2 separate regions of the Homo sapiens genome follow, and region 1 is linked to region 2. The links are contacts of gene promoters, found by promoter capture Hi-C in human tissues and cell types (Jung and others, 2019). All regions are on one chromosome and are shown on one strand. Each heading gives the region's core, a stretch centred on a gene start or on the middle of the fragment in contact. The rest is flanking DNA. Distances are from core to core; before and after follow the strand shown.

Region 1 (3,492 bases), core at 979-3,478, 570 kb before region 2:
ACACGCATCTCCAGCTGTGACACATTAGGTGGAACTCATCACCTCATCCATCCCCATTTAGTTTAATCTGGAAAAGAAGACCATGTTCCTCAATAATAAAATAGGGTCTGGGGAAAAGAATGAAACTACCCCTTAAAGGAGAAGGAAAATGTGAGTGTGTTCTCAGGCCACTGATTCCGTTATTATTTGTGCTTATAATTTTGAAGCCCTGGGAAAGTTACTTAATATCCCTGAACTTCATTTATGCTCATCTGTAAAATGAGAATATTGATACTGAACACCATGGTTGCTAGGAGGACAATGATAAAAAAGTACACAATGTCATAATTACCATGTAACAAGAGTTGACTAATTCATAGGTATTCCCATTCACCCCCCTTCATTTCATCATGATTATTATTTATGTAGAAAATGAAATTTAGTAATAATGTTTCTAATTAATTCTTCCACTCATTCATTCATTAAGCAGACATTTCTGAAGGTGCCTATGAAACCAGGCACTGTGCCAGGTAAGCACAGTGAGATTCTCTATTTCAGAGACTGGAGGCTATGCTTGACAGCAGTAGTGTTGGTGGGTTGTTAAGTTATAATAATACTCTACATTTACCCAGCCTTTCATATCAGAAAATGCACACATATAAAGTAATCTCACTGAAATCTCCACAATTCTGAGATGTAGCAAACTCCAGGAGGGCAGGGACTTTGTCTGTCTTATTATTATATTCCCTTTCCTTAGCACAGAGTCTGGCACATAATGGAAACCTTATATTATTTCAATGAATGAAGAAAAATTGACGAATCAATGAAATCTGAAAAGATAGTTACTGGTAGCATCATTTTACAGGGAGAGGAATAAAGTGTCATTGGCATTGATATTTATCAGCAATCACAGCAATCACTGAGTATTGCAGTAATTTCACAAACTAAACCATTTGTGGTGGAGATAGCATCTTACCCTTCAATTTTATTGTACAGGAACAGTAGAATAAGAAAAAAAGTAATACAACATAAATGTAATACATAATAGCAAGAATGATAATAACAACACAAATAAAAGCTAACATCCATAGAGTGCTTAACCTGAGGCAGGCTGTGTTCTGATAACTTGATGTGATCATGGTGAGAATGCTGTTGGATATGTTCTACAAGGCAATGTGCCCGCAACTTACTGTATCTTCATCTGCTGAAGCCTTCCTTAGAACTGAGCCTTCGTTGTCTTCTCTTCATTCCTCTTCCAGTGGTAGAAATTGTGAGCTCCTCTGGGGGGTAGGATCTTTGTCTATTTCAGATCTGTATTTCCCAGCACTGTATCATGCATATGGTAAGTGTTCAATGTGCTTTTAATGAATACACGAAAGGGTGATCTAACTGAAGGAAAGGAAATGCTCAGTGGGCCCCCGAGTCATGAGAAGATTTGAAGAAGAGGACCCTTGAACTAAGCCTCAGATATAATTGAACTTTGAAAGAAGCGGGGTCCAGGGGACTGAGGATGATGCATTAGGAGAGCAGTACGAAGGCTCTCTGTCCTGCCTGAAGATCGGGATGGGGTTGAAGTGGGGAAGAACTGGGTTGCCTCTCAGCCTCTTGAGGGATCTTCCAGTCCTTGGCACTGTTGATTAGATATTTGGTTTCAGTCACCGCTCCATTCTTTTTCCATTTTGTGCCTTGATCAGCTCTATTGGTTTACTTTAGAGTTTGATCTTTGCAAGCAGAGTGGAGCCATCGAAGCCTATGGGACAGGACTTGTTTCATCAAATGGGAAGCCGGAGGTAAGAACTTCATTTGTACTTTTTCTAGTAGCATTGCCCAAAGTACGTTCCATGAGAAGTTGTGTTAGGGGATGACATGGGGCTTGTAGAGGTAAAAAAAAAAAAAAAAAAAAAAAGTTCAGGGGTCAAATGTTTGTGGGAAGTGGATTTTTCATCACTGCATAACTTCCCAACAGCTTTCCTAAACACTGAAGCTGTAACAGGGGCTTGCAGAAGACTGTAATGATGTGTAGAGGATTCCAAACTTAGTTAACCGTGGGGCACTTTAAGAGTGGGGTGGGGGAAGGGGGGAGGGAAAGCATTAGGAGATATACCTAATGTAAATGACGAGTTAATGGGTGCAGCACACCAACATGGCACATGTATACATATGTAACAAACCTGCACGTTGTGCACATGTACCCTAGAACTTAAAGTATAAAAAAAAAAAAAAAAAAAAAAAAGAGCGCGTGCGGACGGAATCTCGTGGGATTAGTATTTCACAGAACATTATATTCTTTCTTTTGGAAGCGCTCCCTTAGATCTTTCTATTAAAGAAGTACTTTACCTTAGAGCACTTGGATATATATTAATTCATGGGCTTCCTGCAGATACAAGGATGTTTCTCTCCCTCTACCTTCTCCAGTCTTCACCATCTGCCTTTGTCATGAACAGGCTTCAATTCCCACGTCCGCCCTTTGTGCACACTAGAGGGTGGTGTTGAGCCTGTTTAGAATTTCCCGCACTTGGGACTGAGAAAAAGTATGATGAAGTTGCTCTTCCTTTTTACATAAATCAGGGAGGAATAAGTACCCCGCAGCTGTTGCTCTTACTGTGAAAACCATTGCGGGGGCAGGAGTTTGTTCAAAATTCCTAAATAACAGAAGGTCTTGAAAACCACAGACCAATGCTCCTAAGAAGTTTCTCTGTCTGTCCTTCCATGCCTGGGAGAATCAAGTCCTCATCTGGGCTCTCTAGGGGTTCGTGAGTGCACAACACTGAAAAAATAAAATACAACAAAAGTGTGTCCCTGTTTCATTGTATCTGGAATACTACTATGGTTGGAATGGAGCTGAAATATTTGACAAACTTATGTCACAGAGACACTTCTGAATAAACTCAGTCTTTCTTTAGCTATACCCAATTCTAACCTTCCTGCCTTCTACTCAGTCTTCAAGACACAGTTCAAATTTCTACTCACCTAAAAATTCAAAAGCTAAGAGAATCACCATCTCTGAACTCTTATGCTCAGCCTCGGATTACTAAAGTCTTAGAATAATCTTTAAAAGTTTTCATTTATGTTCCTTTTTTCTATCAACTCTATTGTAAGGGCTTCCAGAATAAGGGCTACATGTTACACTTGCCCATGTTGCCCAGCAAAGGATTAGAAACTTGGCAGAAGGAAACAGGTATCTACCGATTTCCTACCATGCAGCAGGCACTGTGTTGGGTACTTTCACGCCTCTGCTCAATTAAGCCTGAATTTGGCTGGCTGTAAAGCCTGTCGTCTTTTCACAAGATTGTAACCATTCAACGAGTACATTTAAAATGGCAGAATATGTTGGACAACCTCATGTCCTGGTTTGCCAAGGTCAGTCTTGGTTTATATCTGTTGTCCTGGCATAATTATTAATAGTATCTCGTGTCACTCTCAAAAGTGTTGCAGCTTGGTCTATAAGTTATATGACAACCAATCTCTGGAGCCAGACAGTTTGGGTTGGGACCTTGTTTCTACCATTCACTA
Region 2 (3,867 bases), core at 767-3,266:
TTCTCCAAAATTAATCTATAAATCTATAAAACCAATGTGATTATAAGTTGAGCATCCCAAATCTGAAAAGCCAAAATCCAAAAATGCTCCAAAATCTGAAACTTGTTAAGCATTAACAATATGCTAAAAAATATATATTCATTGAAGCATTTCAGATTTCAGATTTTGGGATACTTAACTGATATAATGCAAATGTTCCAAATTCTGAAAAAAATATCCCAAATCCAAAAATACTTCTGGTCCTAAGCATTTCAGATAAGGGATACCTAACTAGAACCTTAATATCCTGTCAAGTGTTCTTACGGAACTTGAAAAGCTGATTTTAAGATTTATATGGAAAAGAAATGACTAAGAATAGCTAAGGAACTGCTGTAAAAGAAAAACATGTGGGTAAGTAGAGGGCTGGGAAATTTGACCAGATATTAAAAATTATTTTAAAGTTATATTAATACTGTAGATTTGGCTGTGGAATAGAACGTTCTGAAAGGAGCCCACACATATATAGAAATCTGATATACTGTAGAGATGGCACTGCAGATTAGTGGGGACAGGATGACTTCTTCAAGAAATATATAAGGACATTGGAAAAAGTAAAATTACATCTCTATCTTATATCATACACAAAATTACAGATGAATTACAAACCTAAACATGAAAGTCAAAATATTTAAACTTTTAGAAGAAAATATATGAAAACACGTTAATAATCTAAGGATTGAGAAGGATTTCTAAAAAAAAACAACACATTAAAAGTAGTTGCCATAAAGAAAAAAGAAAAATATTTAAACATTAAAATTAATCAGTTTGGTTCACCAAAAGACACCAGAGGGGTTGAAAATATGTCACAAACTGAGCGAAAATAATTGAAACATATATAACTAACAATTAATATCCAGAATATATAAAGAACTCCCATAAATAAATTAGAAAAAGACAACCCAATAGAAAAATGGACAAAGCCAAAAAAGAAAAAAAAAAAAAGCATTTAACATAAGAGGAAACATAAATGGCTCAGAAACATATGGGAAGACACTTAACCTCTTTGGTAATTAGGAAAATACAAATTAAAAGGACAATGAGACACAAGAGTCAGCTAGGACATGGAACAATGGAAATTCTCATACCCTGCTTATCGAGGGCACAAATCGCTTACAACTATGTTGGAAAACATTTTGGCATTAGTAAAGCTGAACATATACATACTCCATGATCCAGTAATTCCATACTGAGAAATATACTCTAGAAAAATTCTTACATATATGTACCAGAAGACATATAAAAGAATGTATTATCTTATTCATTGGGGTCAAAATTAGAAATTAACTCTGAAATGTTTAATTAAAAGTCATACAACATAAACTCATCATCCAAAAGTAATGTTTATGGGCACATAAATATTCTTTTCATGGACTAATTCATTAATTTCTAAATTCATTAATAAATATTTGTACATATTATCCTTTTGTAAATGCAGAGATAAAATACACCTGACAGGTCAATTTTTGATATAGCATGAATGGCTTTTTGTTCACACTGACAGGCATATGTACTTTAATCACCAAAAACTATATCAAGTATTTATAAAAGAAAGTCTCTTTTGAGGATTATTTCAGTTTAATCAGGATTAAAAGGAAATAAAACTTTATCCTTATCATCCTTGAGTGAAATAACTTGAGTTTTAATATCTTTACTTAATCAGAAAATACACAAAAGGAAACAATAATATAGAGAGAGCCTGATGTCCTGTGGTCTTCCTTAATAACAACCCATTTTCAAGAGACTATAATCTACTCAACAGAAAGCATTCTACCAAGGATCTTAGTCAGATTCTGAGAAAATTCACACTCAAAATAAACAATGTGTCACTAAAACCAAAACAATGTAGGTATTAGCAGCTGCATAAAGGTTAGCCTCAATCTAATGAGTCATTTCTAAAATGATGAAAAGTATAATTCTTTGAAGTGCTTTCTATTCAAGCTAGAAAATATATAAAGATACAGAATCGTTTACCAAGCAGGCTGACAGAGAAATTTTTCATTTTCTTTCTTGTTTGACTGTATGCAAACATCAAACTAAGAATGGCAAAAATGAATCTCTCTTCCTATATATTAATACTAACTTTTTCTTTGTTTTCTCAAGGTATTTTACTTTCAGCATCCAAGTCCATAAGAAATTTAGATGATGACATGGTATTTAATACATTCAGGTTGGGGAAAGGCTTTCAGAAGGAAGACACTGCAGAAAAATCAGTTATTGCTCCTTCCCTGGAACAATATAAAAATGATGAGAGCAGTTTCATGAACGAAGAGGAAAATAAAGTTTCAAAGGTAAGTGGCAATGTGACTTGTCGTTTATTTCAATGAAAATTTAAATGATTCTTACAAATCCTCTGAAAAGTAAAACTGATACTTTTATAAACAGAAGTATATGCAAACAGTCACAATATGCATTAGGACGACTGACGATATTTCTTACATGCCAGGTAGTTCTTCCATCCCAGCAAACACCTCTTATCTGAAAGTGTTTTTTCTCCTATAAATTTGCATCTAAGGTATTTTTAAAAAGTCAAAAACAGTGCAGAGTAACTTTGAATTGATCAACAAGAATATTATACAATTGTATTATAGTTCCACTCCGAATACGATAGCTAAAAACCAAATCAACCTTCTCTTTACAGAACACAGGCTCCAAACATAATTTCTTAAATCATGGTCTGCCACTGAATCTGGCTATAAAACCTTATCTTGCACTAAAAGGATCTGTAGCTTTCCCAGCTGAGAATGGAGTTCAGAATACTGAATCAACACAAGAAAAGAGAGAAATTGGGGATGAAGAAAACTCAGCTAAATTTCCTATAGGAAGGAGAGATTTTGACAGTGAGTAGTCTTTTCAAAATTCAATTCTTACATCCTACCACCATTAAACAGAACTCTGAGTTAAAGTGAATTTGGATGCAATCATAACAAAATCAAATAAGACCATGGCTCAATTACACCTGCCAAAAATGTGGGATTAAATAGCAACAATTAATTATTATCATTTTGGTTTACTCAGAATTAGTTATACTAGATCCATTCTTTTTTTCTTAATAAATTTTGTGTGATAATTATAGTCCTTTAAACAATTTAAACTTTCTTCTTCCTTCAGTGCTCAGATGTATGCTGGGAAGAGTCTACCGACCTTGTTGGCAAGTCTGATACCTGTTGGTCCACATCATCTTTTCAGAAGAAAATAAAAGCATTTAATTGCCAATGGGAGGAGAAGCCCATACTGCTACTATAACTTGTGTATGTTAAATGTCTGTTTTAAAAGAAAGTAGTGTTAAGATGTATCAGTAACTGAAATGATATGCTTTCTCTGTGCATTAAACTTTGTGAAAATTCTGCATAATTATGACTTACTAGTATTTTTAAACAATGCTTAACATACTAACCTTACATACACTGTAGACCAAAATAATAAATCATCATAATTTACACCTTGATCTCTTAAAAATTAAGCATGTCTTTGGTGAATGGTTTATAGATACATAAACCTAAAGCATATAAGACACAAATTTATAGTCTAAAAAACTGAGTTAACTTTGCCTGGCCAGAAATCAACTTGTCCTTGGCAGTACATTTATTACTTTTTGCTACTTTAGCTAGTTTGCCGTACAATCTATTCTGTGAATCATTTGATTTCTTAGGTATTTTAGCATTTTTATGTTGAGGTGGTTCATTTCTATTATCACAGAGAATATTTTCACCATCCAAATCCACCTGTTTCCTTTTTGAGCTTTTATTTCCTGTCTGACTGGTTGATTTTCTTGATACTTTTTCATTTTTACTTCTGTCCAGATGAACATTTCCAAAACTCGTTCCAATT

The links. Contacts are between HindIII fragments. The study calls those that stand out against the background at their distance.
Region 1: a fragment that was not itself captured here is called in contact with the fragment with the promoter of PMCH in region 2 in 2 of the 25 tissues and cell types used here (lymphoblastoid cells and mesendoderm cells).

Annotation. Positions count from the first base shown.
Region 1 is chr12:102,768,722-102,772,213 of GRCh38, reverse strand. No RefSeq gene overlaps it. Among named protein-coding and RNA genes, the nearest start is that of LINC00485, 54 kb to the left of the region's middle. The HindIII fragment of the contact is 9,213 bases long and covers 1-3,492 here.
Region 2 is chr12:102,195,982-102,199,848 of GRCh38, reverse strand. It overlaps PMCH (pro-melanin concentrating hormone), which reads left to right and starts at 2,016. Exons shown (of 3, transcript NM_002674.4): 1 at 2,016-2,327; 2 at 2,678-2,876; 3 at 3,148-3,390. The coding sequence starts at 2,079. The coding sequence ends at 3,197. It overlaps PARPBP (PARP1 binding protein), which reads right to left. Exons shown (of 11, transcript NM_017915.5): 11 at 2,329-3,867. The coding sequence ends at 3,558. The HindIII fragment of the contact is 16,025 bases long and covers 1-3,867 here.